Linked DNA regions of Homo sapiens: all the other regions are linked to region 1. Evidence: promoter capture Hi-C in 16 types of primary human blood cells and fetal thymus (Javierre and others, 2016). All regions are on one chromosome and are shown on one strand. Each heading gives the region's core, a stretch centred on a gene start or on the middle of the fragment in contact. The rest is flanking DNA. Distances are from core to core; before and after follow the strand shown. Region 1 holds the start of MALT1 (MALT1 paracaspase). Region 2 overlaps ALPK2 (alpha kinase 2). Region 3 overlaps ALPK2 (alpha kinase 2).

Region 1 (2,914 bases), core at 158-2,657:
TCATTCTTTCAGGAGTGGACACTGCAGTTTCCAGCGTTCTGTGACCTGTAATAGTGCGACAGACTGAATGCAGAAGCACATAAACGAATCCAGCTCTGTGATTAAGCCAAGACATTAAAGAGATCTTCAAAATGAAAACCAATGCCACTTCTCTAATAGACTTTTTTGTTTTGGAAAATTTGTTTTTCCACGAAAGTATTATTTCTGTTACCATATAATGGGTTATTCTTTTTAAATAAATTAATATTTTTTAAATGTCTTAGCTTTAATTTCAAAGGTGGTAAATATCAGTATGTATTACATGTATGTATTATCTCTAACCCACATAAGAGCTCTCTGGGGTCCTCAATAATTCTTAAGAGGGTAAAGGAGTCTCGAGACCAAAACTTCAGGAACCCTAATACAGCCATTCCAAACCTAACAAGGAAAATAGTTTTACTTCGAGTTTCATGTTCATGGTGAAGTCAAGAAGAGAACGTGGTAACCTGGTTTGATGGAGGGAGATGATGAGTTCGGCGTCAGTCTTTCCCAATACCTTGCAAAATGTTCATGAATTCCTGCACCCCACCCTCTGCATTCATCACCTCGCCTGCGCTTCTTCCCAGCCTTCCTTAGGTCTCCCAGAGCAGTGTCCACATCCCTTTCTTTTGCATTTTAAGTCCTCTGGATGACTGCCCCATCCTAGGGGTCCCCTGACAGCTTTCCTTCTCTCACTATCCTCCGGGGTCAACCTCGACTTCTCCCTTTCACCAGGGGCGGGGGTGGGAACAGGGAGCGAGGCAGCCGCTGGGCCACTTTTGCCTCCACCCTCCAGAGCCCTGGGCCCCGCTCTCAAACCCCAGGCGTTCCGGGGAGCTGCTGAGTTCCGCTCCGCCTCAATGACCGAAGTCCTCCCCACCTCCGCTCACTCACGCCGGCGGCCCCCGCCGCGCTCAGCCCCACCGACAGCGCCCCCACCTCCCCACCGCAGCCCACCCCGCTCGACCCGCGCGCCCGGCCTGCCGCGGCCCTGAGCTCACCTGAGGCGGAGGCGCCCGCGACTCCCCGCCAGCTCCGCCAGTCTCCTCCAGCCCCGGCCCTCGGGCGCCTGATCCAGGAGCTCGCTGAGCCTCCGCAGCAGCGGCTCCCGCAGGCGGTTGAGGGTCGCGCCGGCCGGAGGGGCGAGCAGCGGCCCCGTGGGGGCGGCCGAGGGCGGCAGGGCCTGTAGCGGGTCCCCCAACAGCGACATGGCCCTCGCCGGCGACCCCGGACTGCCGGGGCTCCCGCCCGCCCCGTCACGGGCCTCGGCCCCGGGGCACCTTCCGCTCGCCTCCGAGCCGCGGAGGCAGGGGCGGAAGAACAAATCTGGCAGCGCGGCACGGCCCTCAGAGGAGGAAGCTCCGCTCCCCGCCCCAATTAGACAGGTTTGCCGAGGGGAGCCTGGCCTGCTGGCCGCGCCAGCCGCGCAAAGGGGCGGGGCACCCGGGGGGCGGGGCACGGAGCCTCGAGGGGCGGGACCTTGGGCCTCGAGGGGCGGGGCGGGGCTGCCTACTGCGTGCGTGCGGCTGCGCGCCTCCCTCGCCCTCCCCCGCGGTCCCGGGCTGGCCGTGGCGCGCGCTTCAAACCCAGCCCTCCCGAGCAGGAAAGGACGGGTGGGTGCAGCTGGAGGAGGAAGCGGTGGAGGAATTACGCCCCGGCAGCTCCTCTACGGCGGGGAAGCCTGCGGCGTCTGGGCTTCCTGAGACCGTGGGAGGAGGCCTGCGTACTCACGCCAGAGAGCGGGGCAAGCGGTTCTCAGTCGCCGGCTCCCGCCCGCAGTCCCCGGCGAGCGCTCTCCCCTGACTCAGGGACTTTCATGTGCCCGGCGACACACCAGCATCCTGCAGTGGGCAACCTCAGCGGACGCTTCCTCGTTTTAGGGTTAGATGTGTATGGCATTGCTAGAGGGAAGTAGTGCTGGAGATCCGGATACTTGAGTTGGAATTGGCCAAAATCTTTGCCTAGACTTTTAAACAATTACTACTTTGCAAACTGAGCTGTGGCATATTTAGGGCTAATCAGATCTTGGAAATGATTGTTTTTAGCAGGAATCATCTGGTTTACACCGCGTCAGACTGCCGCCCGCAATCTCCGTCATCAAAGCAGGCAACCCTGTAGAGGATGCCTTTCCCTGGAATGATCCGGAATGGACGACACCTGAGCTCTCTCTGCCAATCTTAGCAACATCCAAGGCCATTATCCCTTTGAAAACTATGGCTTCGTTTGGGACAAAAAGGAAGTAACTTACGAAATGTGACCAGTCAGGTAGTTCCCTACACGAGGCTTCCTGGCCCAATTTCTGTTGCCATTAGCTTTTCATCACCCAAGGCCGCAGGATTTTCTGACCAGTAATTTGGATACCTATATTCTTATACATGTTGGCGAGGTAGGTGCGCCATACAGTCTCCACCACATTCTAGCACAAGCAGTCATTAAACTTCACTCTAGCATAAGTTAAGAATTCAGACTGCAGTGAGATGGCTAAGAGCATGAAAGATCTGCTCGATTCAAGTGTTAGGAGCTTGAATAAGTTTCTTAATTTCTCTGCCTCATCTATTAACACAGGACTGACAATACAGTTTATATAGAGTTGTTGCCAGAATTAAAGGAGTTGATGTATGTGAAGCACTTAACTCGGTAACTGGCACATCGTAGATGACTCAGTAAATGCTATTACCCTTACACATACAAGTGCCGTTTCATACTCAGTTTGACTTGGCAAGCCTTTCCCAACCGCTTCAGGTGCCTTCCTGTTTTGTCCTCAATTACTGTACAAATATTTTCTGAGGATCTGTTACCTGCATGTGCCAATTATGGAAATAAAATCTTCTAGTCTTTACTGGAATCCTGCCTTTTAATTTAAATTCAACAGAGGTCTTCTAAATTTAGACTTCTT
Region 2 (2,914 bases), core at 121-2,620, 160 kb after region 1:
CAGTGTCTGTCCTCTTAAGTTTTCTTCAAAAAAGAAAAGATTTAACCCACAAGTCAACCCTACCACACACAGAACCACAGTGCCCTCCAGCAGGGACAGACCCAAGTTTTGTGTGGCTTGACTCTTATGCAATTTGGGCTTCTTTCTTTCCTTTCTGTTTTATTTTTTTTAAGAGACATGGTCTCCCTCTGTTGTCCAGGCTGGAGGGCAGTGGTGCAATCACGGCTCACTGCAGCCTTGACCTCCCGGGCTCAAGTGATCCAGCCTCCAAAGTAACTGGGACTACAGGTGCTCACCACCACACCTGGCTAATTAAAAAAAATTTTCTCGTAGAGACAGGGTCTCTGTATGTTGCCCAGGCTGGCCTACAACTCCTGGCCTCAAGTGATCTTCCTGCCTCGGCCTCCCAGAGTGCTGGCGTTATAGGCATGAGCCACCATGCCTGGCAAATTTGGGTCCTTTTTAAAGAAAAGAACACAAAATTGTAAATAATTGATCTAGGGACTTGGAAAGGGCTCATGCAAGTGAAGGATCAGGAGGCTGATTCATTTGCTGCATTAGCATCACAGTAAATAGGCCACTGCCTTAAAGATAGGTTAGGACATTTTTCTATCTAAACCACTTTCCCATTCCTTACAAGGGGACAGTTTGTGACCACATGAATGCTGACGGTACATGGGAGGAGTAAGGGGCCTCAGAAGGGCCTCTGGGCCAGACTCCATGTTTATGGAACCTAAATCAGAGGACTCCACAGCCAAAAAACACACATACACACCCCCTACACAAACAACACTCACCATACACACACACATACCACACAAACAACACTCACCATACACATAAACACACCCACAACACAAACACACACCCCACACACACCCCCACACCACACATACATACCACACAGATTACATACAAACACACACCACATACAACACACATACCACACACACACCACACACAAACACACAACACTCACCATATGCACAAACACACCACACCACACACAAACCACACACCACACACACCCCACATAAACACACAACACACACCACACACACACCACACATACACACACCACACATACAACACACACACCACACACCCCACACACCCCACACATCACACATACACCACACACATACGCATTACACACCCCCACACACACCACACATACAACACACCACACACACACCACATACACACACACACACACCTCATACATGCACCTCACACACATCACACACACCCCCACACACCACACACACCACACACATACACATACACACAACACACACCACATAACACACACACCACAGACAATACACACATACACATACACACCACACGAACATACCACACACATACCACACACACACACAGCACACACACACCACACATACGTATACACATCACACAACCACAAACCACACACACAACACATACACACAACACACGCACACAGAGCTGACCCTGTATATTACCAACCTTCTCTGAAAGCCTGCACGTCTAGAGAGAGGACCAGGAGTCCTGTCCCCCTCCCCCACTGCCACAGCCCCTAGACTGACCCCCGCTGGGGCCACCCCCATATTTATTTCCAGGCAATGAAGCAGGCCTGAAGAAGCCTTTTTTAACGGAGCATGTGAGGTCTTGGAGATAAAACACTCCTCATTTGGGCAGCTTCTGTTTTTGAATTCATGAATATCAATGGAGTCACATTGTCTATGCAAATGGCGTCCTGCTGGGCAGAGGCCAGGCCTAATTAAGACCCTGAATAATGCCCAGCTCTTGTTTCTGGTTTTTTTCCCCACCAGGGATGCAGAATTAATAAGAGCCCAAGCAAACCGTGAATCCTTTTGTTGGCAGAAGGGTCAGTAGCCACAGGGGGTCGGTCCTCAGGAGGGAATCAGGGTGCCCTGGATCCTGCAGAAGTGACAAAGCACGACAGAGGGTGGCTTGGCGGCTGCACCGATTTCAGGGCTGCGGGAAAGGTCCACTGTCCTAATGTGCCCACTCCCATCTGGCTGAAATTTGAAATTTCTTTAACAAGACACAAAGAGGTTCTATCTTAAAATTAGAAAGAATGTCTCAAAGACTCTGGCATGATAGTAATCAGGGTACGCTGGTATTAGAGGGGCCTTGTGTCCAGGGGTGGGGTTCTAGAAGGACACTGTTCTGGCTCAGATTCTGCTCATGAGCAAGCCTCTGTGTCCTCTTCATGAAGTGAAGGGGATTCTCACAGTTTCCAGGAAATGCTCCTAAATGGCACAGGAGGATGCCTGTGTGCCCGTCAAAGGGTCTGGGGGCTTCATCCAAATTAGCTGGCCCGCAGGTGTAATTTCTTTGAAGTGTAATATTTTATAGCTTTTAAATTCTATTGAATGTTGTGTCCTCCTTCCTTTATGACTATATTTGTTTTAATAAAAAATAATGTTTTTCCAAGCACCTTTGGCTCAAGTTAATAACCACGTAAAGCCTTCAGCTTACCTCCTGGGAGAAGGCACAGCCTGGGTGGAGAAGTACAGGGCATTGTTCCGGGAGAACACTCCCAGCTCTCACAGAGGCAAGAGCAAGTGAGCAGGGCAGGACCTGTGCCCCAGCTGGTGTGTGCATGTAACCGCTGGATGGGTTCACCTTGTCCGCTGTACAGACAGAGCTGATTTATCAAGACAGGGAAATTGCAATAAAGAGTTTATTAAATTTTAGACCAATATCCCTTATGAACATCGATGCAAAAATCCTCAATAAAATACTGGCAAACCGAATCCAGCAGCACATCAAAAAGCTTATCCACCATGATCAAGTGGGCTTCATCCCTGGGATGCAAGGCTGGTTCAACATATGCAAATCAATAAACATAATCCAGCATATAAACAGAACCAACAACAAAAACCACATGATTATCTCAATAGAT
Region 3 (2,914 bases), core at 254-2,753, 140 kb after region 1:
AGCTTAGTACAACAGAAACTTTTTATTCACCGGGGACTTTACTACCGTTTTCCCTCAACACTAGCCCAACCTGCACACGGAAGAAAAAACTAGCTGCACTCCAGGTCTCCTTTGAGCTCGTTCAGCTGCACTTTCCACCTCTGTCTCACATAGTCAGGGGTCCTATCCAAAGCCCAAAGCCCCTCGGCTAAACAAGCTTCAAATCTCCCACAGACCATCCATCATTCAGTTCTGCTGCCCATTTCATGCCCTTCCCGCCATCCTCCAATTTTCCTTGTGTTCGGTACAACAGGTTCTGGCAGGCTTAGGAATATTTAGGTGTCCCCACATCACCCATGAAGCCGGCCACTGCATGGTGTTGGAAAGACCCTCTAGGAAATGGCCCAGATGAGGAGGTGGGCTTGGTCGAGACCTGGACCAAGAGTTTGACATTGTGAACCTGAACACGGTCTCAGCTTGGGCAGGAACCAGCAGGCCCAAATGCACTGATGCGGGTTTGCCATCAATACGTACTTGTTACATTTTCTCTCTCTCTCAATTATCCACTTGGCTCCCAGGATACTGTTAGCAGTCTTGGTTACTCTCTGGTTGAAAGATTTGCTACCCAACAGGCCCATTATCACTTCCAGGGTAGAGAATTAGCTTTTAAATATGCATTCTGTCATCCTAGCATCTGCTGGTGCCAAGGAGAGATGAGAAGCACCTTGAATTCATGGATATTTTCACCGTAGTATAATTTGAGGCAGTGGAGCAAAGTCTCAGTATTGGTGATCTTGGTTTGGCTACGGATTACATATGTTTTATACTGATGTACTTTTTTGTGTTACCAACGCTGTGGAGTTATGCTACTTAATTTGTGATAGACTCACACATCTGCAGTAATCTCATTTCCTACCCAATTGTTACGACCACTCGGGACAGGGGCCTCATCCTTGTCTTGTTCTAATGTCTAGGCTGCCGCCCAGTGGCTGCCCTAGCTAATTACACATTAGCATGCTAATTGTTCCTCACTGATATTGATACTGAGGTGATATTTCAAAGGTCTCAGCCCAACCAGTGGGAATTGTTTCCTTATTGCTTCTATTCTCTTTTGCTAATGAGGTTGATATCAGACATCACTCCAATCTACTAGGTTATCTTCAGCAAAGACAAGTGTGATAAAAGGGAAAAGATGAATATTATTCAGCCAATAACCTATTGTTGAGGTGTCTTTTACATTTTGGGGGCTTAGCCGTAGTTTTTTGGATAATCCAGATTTTATTCTACTCCCTAATTCCTAGCTCTGATTTCGACCTGGATGATCTGGTAATCATTTAAAAACATCTTTATTTGGATGAGATCCTATAGAATAGATATCTAAAATCCTCCCACCTCTCATCCCCTTTAGAAAAAATCTCTCAAGTTCTATTTCACTTTAAGCATTACAGGCTGCACCTAAAGAATTTTAAGTAATGGAAGTGAGCATTTTCTATTAGATTGATTTGTAAATTTTCCGACTATTTAGGCAAGCCACCTCTCCCCTCAGAGACTCAATTCTCACTTCCATAATTGGGGATAATAATTAATATTCCTGTCTCTCAGGATTGTTATGAGAATTAAATGGTATGAAATGGGAAAGTCTTTTGTTACACTGACCTTCAAATATCTTGTTTCTAGCTCCAGTATTACTGAAAAAGATCCAAGCTGAGATGTTCCCTGAACACTCTGGAAATGTAAAATTAAGCTGCCAATTTGCAGAAATTCATGAAGATTCTACTATCTGCTGGACAAAAGATTCAAAGTCCATAGCCCAAGTGCAGAGAAGGTGCGATGTTTTTCCCTGGTTACTTTTCACAGTTGTTGCTTGTTTATTTCACAACATGGTTGTAAAAAAGAAAAAAGAATAAATTATAGGACGTGAAAAGGAAAATTGAAGCAGAGATTCCACATCCACAATATTAAAAAAGACTAAATATCGGAAGACAAGTGTCTGGATGGGGAAAATGATGGAGGATTCTTGCCCAGGTTTTGCCAGAATTGAGTTCTGGGGTTTTGGGAAGTCACACAACCTTTCACTACATTTTTTAAATCAGGGGAAGGAACATGTCAAATGATATTCTAGTCTGAGGTTCTGTGGTCCTAAGATTAAAGAGCTCTCATCTGTATGTCTGTGAATTTAACTTGGGTGTGTTTTCTGTTTCATAAATTCCCAGTAATCTGATAAAGGTCAAACAAAGCTAAGGAGATGAATAAAAACAACAACAACAGCAATCTATGAGGTTACAGAAAAGTAACAGCTATTGAGGGTGACCAGCAGCCATCACTAAGATGGGAAAACCTGTTTATTTCTGGGTCCCTATGATTTTTATTTTTATTTTTGAGACAAGGTGCTACTCCCATCTCCCAGGCTGGAGTATAGTGGTGCAATCACGGCTCACTGCAGCCTCCACCTCCTGGGCTTAAGTGATCCTCCCACCTCAGCCTCCCGAGTACCTAGGATTACTGGAGCACACCACCATGCTTGGCTAATTTTCTTTTGTATTTTTAGTAGAGACAGGGTTTTGCCACATTGCCCAGGCTGGTCTTGAACTCCTGGCCTCAAGTGATCCACCTGCCTCAGCCTCCCAAAGTGCTGGGATTACAGGAGTGACCCACTGCGTCCAGCCATGTCCTTAAGATAATAAAGGAGAGAAGAATGAGGAGGCAAGAGATGAGCGTGAGAATCATTGCCAAGAATATCCCCTGTGGAATAAACCTGATTACTGGCTTCCTTAAGCAGCTTTTCTTGGCAATAAATGCTTGTTCAAGTGAACTGATGAATTCAAGCTTCATCTGACACAATCTAGAAACAAATCACCTGGTTCAAAAGTCAACCCTCTGCCAAAGGGTTCCCAGTTTAGCTCCCTAAGAAATGGGAGGGGTTCCAATCCCCTTA

The links. Contacts are between HindIII fragments. The CHiCAGO score rates a contact against its expected background, and 5 or more counts as called.
Region 2: a contact is called between a fragment that was not itself captured here and the fragment with the promoter of MALT1 in region 1, in 4 of 17 cell types (non-activated CD4 T cells, naive CD8 T cells, naive CD4 T cells and 1 more). The highest score is 5.7, in non-activated CD4 T cells.
Region 3: a fragment that was not itself captured here is called in contact with the fragment with the promoter of MALT1 in region 1 in 12 of 17 cell types (activated CD4 T cells, naive B cells, monocytes and 9 more); the score reaches 23.3 in activated CD4 T cells.

What each region holds. Positions count from the first base shown.
Region 1 is chr18:58,669,958-58,672,871 of GRCh38, reverse strand. MALT1 (MALT1 paracaspase) reads right to left here and starts at 1,407. Exons shown (of 17, transcript NM_006785.4): 1 at 1,020-1,407. The coding sequence starts at 1,228. MALT1-AS1 (MALT1 antisense RNA 1) reads left to right here and starts at 999. Exons shown (of 2, transcript NR_164150.1): 1 at 999-1,403; 2 at 2,064-2,863. LOC105372146 (a long non-coding RNA gene) reads left to right here. Exons shown (of 4, transcript XR_935537.3): 4 at 13-259. RefSeq lists a silencer at 879-1,668 and an enhancer at 1,829-2,088. The HindIII fragment of the contact is 13,202 bases long and covers 1-2,914 here.
Region 2 is chr18:58,511,129-58,514,042 of GRCh38, reverse strand. The region is part of intron 10 of ALPK2 (alpha kinase 2); the gene reads left to right. Among named protein-coding and RNA genes, the nearest start is that of ALPK2-AS1, 44 kb to the left of the region's middle. RefSeq lists enhancers at 1,001-1,770, 1,771-2,542. The HindIII fragment of the contact is 2,835 bases long and covers 1-2,787 here.
Region 3 is chr18:58,527,981-58,530,894 of GRCh38, reverse strand. ALPK2 (alpha kinase 2) reads left to right here. Exons shown (of 13, transcript NM_052947.4): 6 at 1,657-1,804. Among named protein-coding and RNA genes, the nearest start is that of ALPK2-AS1, 28 kb to the left of the region's middle. The HindIII fragment of the contact is 2,609 bases long and covers 199-2,807 here.